Linked DNA regions of Homo sapiens: region 1 is linked to region 2. The links are contacts of gene promoters, found by promoter capture Hi-C in blood cells and fetal thymus (Javierre and others, 2016). All regions are on one chromosome and are shown on one strand. Each heading gives the region's core, a stretch centred on a gene start or on the middle of the fragment in contact. The rest is flanking DNA. Distances are from core to core; before and after follow the strand shown. Region 1 holds the start of ACTBL2 (actin beta like 2). Region 2 holds the start of GAPT (GRB2 binding adaptor protein, transmembrane).

Region 1 (3,871 bases), core at 1,104-3,603, 1.0 Mb before region 2:
ATACATTGATATTTTCAAAGATGTTAGTATCTCAGAGACACTTTGCATAAATAAGTATTGCTAGTTACTGGACATAATAAAGTAGAATTATTCTAAAAGCTTTCCAAGGATAAAACTGTGTTAGTATACTGGTAGTAAAATGTATAATTAATAAAGATGCTGCAGCTATATTTTCCCACAGTGAAATCCTTGCACAAGAGAAGTATCTGTAATCCTGGTCTACAGAAATTATTTAAGATGTGCTATTACACTAAGAAATAGAAATAAAATTACCTCTGTCAAATTGTACCATAATGACATTAATTTGATATTATAATATCTATCTCTCTTAAGAATTAGACATTGTCTGTAGTTTTGGTATGAGAAGGTTCAGTAAGAAAGATATTAAAATATAATTTGACCAGCAGAACTCCACTATGAGCTGAAAATTTAGATGATTTATAAACATTAATGGAATGGTGGCTGTCTCATTATGCTTATTTAGTAAGGGAAACAATTAAAATATGTACCTAGTACAACGATGACTTTTGGGAGTAAAGAAATTCACATTAGCTGTTCAGATAGCTAGATACATCAGCATATTTCACAATATATTTTATTTCCCTGGTGCTTATGTATATATGGATATTATTGAACTTTATAATTCATTATCTCCATACAAAGAAGTAAACAAAACAAAGATACTTAACTAGTAAGACACGGCTGCTAAATGCATACGCACCTTTTTTTTTTAAACAAGTTTATACAGCCTGTTCTTGTTAAATATTTTAGCGAGAACTAAGTTTTAAAGCTTGATAATTATAGTTATCCATTCTGAAATGACATTTCTCGTGATTTTACTCCTTGTCACTTATATGTATTTAAGCTGGCCTACCTATCTTTGAACAGTATAGGCAAAGAAAAAGGAATATGGTATTAGAATTCACCTTCACTTGATGGAGAACCGGATGTGGTTATCTGGGTAAGAGCCCAGGTTACTTGGATGGAGAGATGGGTTTGCTGGTTTACACTAGGAAGAGTGACGTATTTACCTCGATTCTACTGAAAGCGGATAAAAGCAGTACCATCACTGTGACCTAGGAAAAGGGAAAATGTAAGCCCACTAATATGGAAGCCCATTCAGAAACATTTTCTGTGAACGATAGGAGGACCAGCCTCATCATATTCCTGCTTACTGATCCACATCTGCTGGAATGTGGACAGGCTGGCAAGGATGGAGCCCCCAATCCAAACAGAATACTTCCGCTCTGGGGGAGCTATGATCTTGATTTTCATGGTGCTGGGTGCCAGGGTTATGATTTCTTTCTGCATCCTGTCAGCAATGCCTGGGTACATGGTGCTCCCTCCAGATAACACGGTGTTGGCATAGAGATCCTTGCGAATATCCACATCGCACTTCATGATAGAGTTGAAGGTTGTCTCATGGATCCCACTGGACTCAATGCCCAGAAAGGAAGGCTGGAAAATGGCTTCAGGGCATCGGAAGCGTTCATTCCCAATGGTGATCACCTGCCCATCAGGAAGTTCATAGCTCCGTTCCGGTGAGGAGGATGCGGCTGCCCTGACCATCTCCTGCTCAAAGTCCAGGGCTACGTAGCACAGCTTCTCTTTGACATCTCGCACAATCTCCCGCTCAGCAGTGGTGGTGAAGTTATAGCCTCGCTCTGTCAGGATCTTCATGAGGTAATCAGTCAGGTCTCTCCCTGCCAGATCCAGGCGTAGAATGGCATGAGGCAGGGCATAACCTTCATAGATGGGCACGATGTGAGTGACCCCATCCCCAGAATCCATCACGATGCCTGTGGTCCGTCCTGAGGCATAGAGGGACAGCACAGCCTGGATGGCGACATACATGGCTGGTGTGTTGAAAGCCTCGAACATGATCTGAGTCATCTTTTCCCGGTTGATCTTGGGGTTCAGGGGTGCCTCGGTGAGGAGGATGGGATGCTCATCTGGTGCCACACGGAGCTCATTGTAGAATGTGTGGTACCAGATCTTTTCCATATCGTCCCAGTTGGTGACCACTCCATGCTCGATAGGATACTTCAGGGTCAGGACGCCTCTCTTGCTCTGAGCCTCATCTCCCACGTAGCAGTCCTTCTGGCCCATGCCTACCATAACGCCCTGGTGTCGAGGACGCCCTATCATGGAGGGGAACACAGCCCGGGGGGCATCGTCACCACCAAAGCCTGCCTTGCACATCCCTGACCCATTATCCACTACCAAGGCAGACAGCTCATTGTCAGTCATGGTGCTGGCTGAGATCTTCCAGACGAGTGAACAGGACAAGTGAATAGACAGTGAGTAAGAGAAAGTGAACAGGCCTAAAACACTCCAGAAATGCTTTCAGACACGGGAGGCTGCACCGGGACCACAGGTATTTAAAGGAACACACTGACTCCGCCCATGTCCTACTCCACCAGTTCCCAGCATTTCTGGATGAGGTCATCTCTGAGGTATTAATGATGGTGATGATTACATAAACAATTAGATCTTTCTACATAAAGAGAAAATTGGCTGCCAAGTGGTCAAATCTCAGGTTCCTGTAATTAGGCAACCCACACATGACCGTCAGCCTGCCTGGTGAGGTCTCTAGATAACTATGATGATGCAGTGGGGGATATAAAAGCAAGATGAAAGAAAGCTGGTGCTAGGTATGGCAACACTGCTGGGAGGAAGGCTCCCTCCTTAGCGTCCCTGAGGATTCACTTTTCCTACACTAGCTTACCTTTTCATTCTTAAGATACTGTTCTGATGAGGGGTCTTACCCTGCAATCTTCACTTTTTCAAGATTTTTGTTTCCATTAGATTCCTAATCCCACAGGGTGTCATCATCGTAGAGACTGTTTTAGTAAATGAAAATAATAAATGGCTAAGGATGGCCTGATGGCTGTAATTACAATGCACTTGTGTCAAGCAAAATGTAGAGATATTTAATAGACTTCTAATCCATCAGAGATCAAGCGAAAGGAATAGAATGATTGCTAAAGTTAACCCATATAGATACTTTTTTCTGATATAAATTTCTAACAACCAAATTTCATTAAACATTTACTGTGTCTAGACATTGTTCATAGAACCAGGTTCATTGGGTCCATGTTAATTGTATAATGACTGAATGTCAACTATTTTGCATGATTTATTAAGATGCAGGTTATAAAAATTTATTTATTTGCAACAACTCTTGAGTTCTGCAACAATGGACAAAATGAAGTGATAAGACAAATTTGAAAAATTATATATTTAAACTAATCCTTAAAACATTTTGATCTTCAAGATACATATACTATATTATAACATTAAACCTCTATGTAGTTATTAAAATCTATACAATTAGAATTATACTAGCTTTCCTTCCATTTCAAGATATATTACACCCTGATCACTTCATAGCAACAATTTGTTTGGGTTCCATGTTTCATATAGAAATACAGACTACCTGAAAAGATGTGTATGATGGTAAAATGTAGGACATCAGCAATGTGTTACAGAGAAATAGCATTTAAGAAAGCTCATTACTTCTGCTCCCCTATGTGTTAGGCGAATAGAATATAATTATCTTTGTGAGCTCTTGTAAAGCAAAGAAATTTTCCATGTCTACATCTGAGTTCTCCAAAATAATCTTTATTTGGGTTCATCATTCATTCATTTACCCAATAAAGCTTGCTTTGTAAGAGGTAGCACAGCCCCTATTTACTGGACAAAAAACACCCTCCAGCTCAAGGCCAGGAGAACTAACCTGAGTCTTTGCCCAGTGAGCCTCTTGGAGAGTCATGGTGTAGCATCAAGCTGTGAGCATCCAGCCCTCTTCTTTGTCTATAGCTTGATATAGATTTATTTTATCCAGTGCTGTAATATGCCTTCAAAACCT
Region 2 (4,402 bases), core at 310-2,809:
ATGCCTAGGCAGGTGAGTGTGTATATTATTTGGAGGGGTGGCTAATACTGAAGTTAAATATAGTGGTGAGAATGTGGAGCACATCAAGTTCATAGCTTCACAACTTCATAACCTCCTTCACTGTAAGATTTTTGTCCAGGACACCCCTATTCTGCCTTAACACCTTATTCTATGAGGCTTAGCTCAGGTCTTGCCTTCCCTGACCACCCTCTGAGCTGGATGCCTCTTTCCTTTACCTCCACTGTCCCTGTCCATAATCCTGTCTTTCTTAGGCATTATCACTTTGATCTGAAATGTTCTGTGGGCGCAGCAGCCTCTCTACTTGGCTTTAAGTGCTGCAGGGAGCTTATTCACTCTTGCATCCTCATCTCTTAGCACAATGCCTGGCATAATGTCAGTGCTCAGCAAGTGTTAATAATACGTCCTGTCCTTCCAATGTCCAGTAGTTATTTCAGTAACTAAATCCTCTTTTTTAAAACCACCTTATGCAAAGTTAATCCTCTGTGGTTCAAAAAGTTCCAAGACAACTTAAAAGACAAATTTTCCATTACTTTGTCATCTCATCTGTCGAATTCATCTGTAATTTGTCTAATTCAGCATCTCCCACTGTGTGTGTTCCCATGAGTTGGACTCCAAGAGATGCTCTTGGTAAGCGTATCTATGTGGGAAACATGTTACTCAATCTAGCAAGGCAGCCAGTGCAGTGGTTTAGCACACAGGTGCTGGGGGCAAACTGCAGGCTCTGTCGGGCAAGTGATCATTCTGTGTGCTTCTGTTTCCTCTTCTGTAAAATAGGACTAATAACAGTTTTTCTCCCTCACAGGGTTGTTGCCAAGATTTGCTGAGTATTACACAAAAGGTTTGGAGTACTTAGTGCTAGGAACATACTGACTACTATTATTAAGCAAAGTTAAACAATTTCTTTTTCTTATTTGGTTTTATTTTGTTTGCTGGCTGTAAGACTGCTGAGAGCCTTTAGCATGCTGATGTACCCATGAATCTCCAGGGAAGCAGTATTCCCCACATTTACTTGATGGAAGAGCTGCTAGCATATCTCAGGGGTAATGGGCCTCAAAACATACCTTAGGAAATTCCTATTTATAAATTTAAAAGAACGTTAACATTTTCCAAACCCAAATTGGGACACTGATTTGACCTGTATGGCTATAACTTGGGAGCATTGGTACATAATATTAATATTTGAAGAGAGGACTGGTCTAGCAACACAAGTAAATAATAATAATAATAATAAAAGCCCAAGACCTATGTGTTACTACAATTAAAATATTTCTTTTTTTAAAAAATCAAAGTACAAGTGAAGTGACTTTTATTGATATTAAAGTGGGAACTGCAAATATGGCCCAAATAAAAAACCATGTAGGCTTTACGTATTATTTTCTGACACAGTTAAAAAACTATTACTTGACAAAGATGAAGGGCCAGACTTCCTTATTCAAAACCTCACGCCATTTATCTTAATTCTGCTGCATCTGATACTGACTTCCTCTAGAGCCAGGAAACTTTGCAAGTATTAAATAGCGTGAACGAAGGAGGGAAAGAAGGAAGTAACCCACCAAAGTGAAAAAGAGGAACAAGTTCTAACCCAATGCAGGTTTAAAACATAACCAAAAGAACAAAAGAGAGAGCTTGACACACCAATCTTGAGGTAAGTAAGAACCTGATTTAAGGTATTTGGATGATTAAACACTATAAGAAACAAGTTTGTCTTTAATTAATCAATGATTTTTATCTTACTACAGTTTTTAGAAAAAAATGCCTTACGTAGCTGTAAGGGGGAAACCCAATTTACAAACTGAGAGTGATGTTAATGTTTCTTTACAATATGATTATGCTTTGCTGTTACCTTGTTTCCAAACAGCAGGGCATTCTCTTACTTGAAAATTCCTGAAGTTTCTCAACAATTTGCGATTTTAAGAAAAATGTCAAATTGTTAGGTAACCTGTTGGAACTGCTTTCCAAAATGAAAACAGAGTCTTCTTTCAAACTGGTCAAAGTGAACATTATTTAAGTGTTAAACTATATTTGAATGGTTATTGTTTAAAATATGTTTTTCATTATAGTAGGTCTTTGTTCATGTCTCACAGGTTTTTTCCTCTAATGTTATTTCGAAGAAAATGATGCATTTCTTTTTCTGTAAAAAGTCTTCTTGTCTTTATCTTGGTAAATATCTCTTAGACAAACAATTTTAATATTTTGGATGTACCAGAATTTCTACTCTACATAGAATAACATAGATGGTAAAAATGCCTTTTCTTCTTAAAAATTAAGAGAGTAATTTATTGCCTTATCCTCAGCTACAGAAGTGACAATAGTTAGCCTTCCTCAACCCTCACCGTGACTTCTGTTGCAGGCCTAGTATCTTTCAAAAAGTTGATTAATTTCAATCAATACTTAAAGTGTATTTTGTAAATTTATTTCAAATATTCTGGCAAATAACTTCTTAAATCATTAACCATGTATACCATAAAATATCTTGCAGATAATTGGTGCTCATCTGTTTCAGACAGGAAATGAGGTCCTAATGATTAAAGTCATTTGGCTAAACTTTTGTCCTTGAACACAAGCACGGCTGGCCTTATAAAGGAGGGACCCTGCAGATTGTAAATCTTATGTGGCGGACCATACAGTTCTCAACCTCAATATTACTCCCAAAAATTCCAAGGAGATTAAAATGTTTCTGCATCTGGGGTGCTTGTCCCTGTATTTTTATCAAAAAATTGTATAAATTAGCTGCACATCTTATTTAATTTTCTTTTATGAAATGTCAAATTAAATATTTGCATATTAATATATTCTAACCTTGGACAAATTTATGAACGTTCATTACCATTAAACTTTTCATGAAAACTCACTGAAAGCAGAGCACCACTTTGTGAATTTCTATTTTTCTTCTCATTGTTACTATTATTATCCCATAAGGAGATTACTTCATTCATTAACAAATGTCTAATAGATTAGTCATTCTGTGTCTAATGCTGGTGTTGGTAATACAAAGGTAAATAATATATGATTTCCAACCTTCGAGAACCTCAGAGCTAATCAAGCTATACAAATTTTCTGACTGATGCACTTAGTAGCATGTTACAGATATTTGGATAAATAATATTTTGGGGAAATTTTTACCTGAATTCTCATTCAGTCACATTTTGGTTGTAAGGAAGTTACTTAACTTCTTTAAGCCTCTCTTCTTATCTATAAAATGGTGATATGAATAGTACCCACTACATATAGCAGCTATAGGATTAAATGAGATAATCCCTGTAACAGTTTTTAAAAGCTGAAACTCTTAACTAAACATTATTGATGATAATAACATTCCATAGATGATAATAATCATTTCACAGGCACTGTTGGATCTATGTCTATGTCTAGACTGAAAATATACAGTAATAATGTTTTGTTGATAAAATCACAATGGAACATGCAGCCCAGTTGAACACTTCCCCTTCTTGTCTCCTTGCCATTTTAAAGCATCAACAGAAAACAATGTAAAATCATCTTGCATGGAAGTTATTTTCTGAAAGCTATGAGAAAACCTGTGATACTAAGGATTTTGAAAATACATTGGTTTACTTTAAAGATCTCATTTCATGTTTTAAGTATAAACTACACCCTTGAGTTTTAAACTATCATCTTAAGCAATTAGATGCTGACATTTGCAGTCATTTTTAAATGCATTATTTCATTCAATAAATATTGATTGGATGCATTTTCTGTGCTAGGTGTTGTGCCATTCTCTGGGAACATACAGATGAAATGACCTGAACCCTGCCCACCATTTAACCAAGTAAGAATACAATTCTCTCTCATTTAGGTTATCACGCTATAATAGAGAATGGACTCATTAATATGGGATTACAGAGGAAGGAATGGTTAAGAAAAAGACATGGCCTCTGACTGCTCCAAAAAAGGATAAGCAGGGCTTCACAGAAGAGGTGACAGGTAATAAAGATGATTGCACGTGTCTGTATATGTCCCTTTTTTTCTATTGTGCTCAGAACATTATCTTTCACTCAAAAATTGTTATCCTAATTGTCAAAAACTATGTGGAGATCTAAGTGATAAAACCACTCAGGGTTGGGCAGGGACAGGATTTTTCTAACTCTTTTTCCTTTCATCACAACGGGTAGTATATTTTATATTAAAAGCAGAAGCTCACTATATGCTGGTGTTTAATGCATTGGTGAAAATCAGTAATTTTTCTATGTTAGATAATAAGTATGCAATTAACATATTTTTAATTTATAGCAGGTTTCTGGATGGCAGATCATTCAACCTTCTTTTTCTTGAGTTTTCTACTCTGCTGTCATCTTCCACTCATTTCTGCTTCATTTTGTGATTCGTTAACAGAAAAGGAAGTGGAATGGAATAAAATCCCCCA

Evidence for each region. Contacts are between HindIII fragments. The CHiCAGO score rates a contact against its expected background, and 5 or more counts as called.
Region 1: the fragment with the promoter of ACTBL2 here is called in contact with the fragment with the promoter of GAPT in region 2 in 4 of 17 cell types (naive CD4 T cells, fetal thymus, total CD4 T cells and 1 more); the score reaches 5.4 in naive CD4 T cells.

Annotation. Positions count from the first base shown.
Region 1 is chr5:57,480,458-57,484,328 of GRCh38, forward strand. It overlaps ACTBL2 (actin beta like 2), which reads right to left and starts at 2,354. Exons shown (of 1, transcript NM_001017992.4): 1 at 1-2,354. The coding sequence starts at 2,250. The coding sequence ends at 1,120. The region is part of intron 1 of RMEL3 (enriched in melanoma 3); the gene reads left to right. The HindIII fragment of the contact is 2,872 bases long and covers 789-3,660 here.
Region 2 is chr5:58,489,876-58,494,277 of GRCh38, forward strand. GAPT (GRB2 binding adaptor protein, transmembrane) reads left to right here and starts at 1,560. Exons shown (of 3, transcript NM_001304431.2): 1 at 1,560-1,666; 2 at 3,836-3,963; 3 at 4,372-4,402. The HindIII fragment of the contact is 6,945 bases long and covers 1-4,402 here.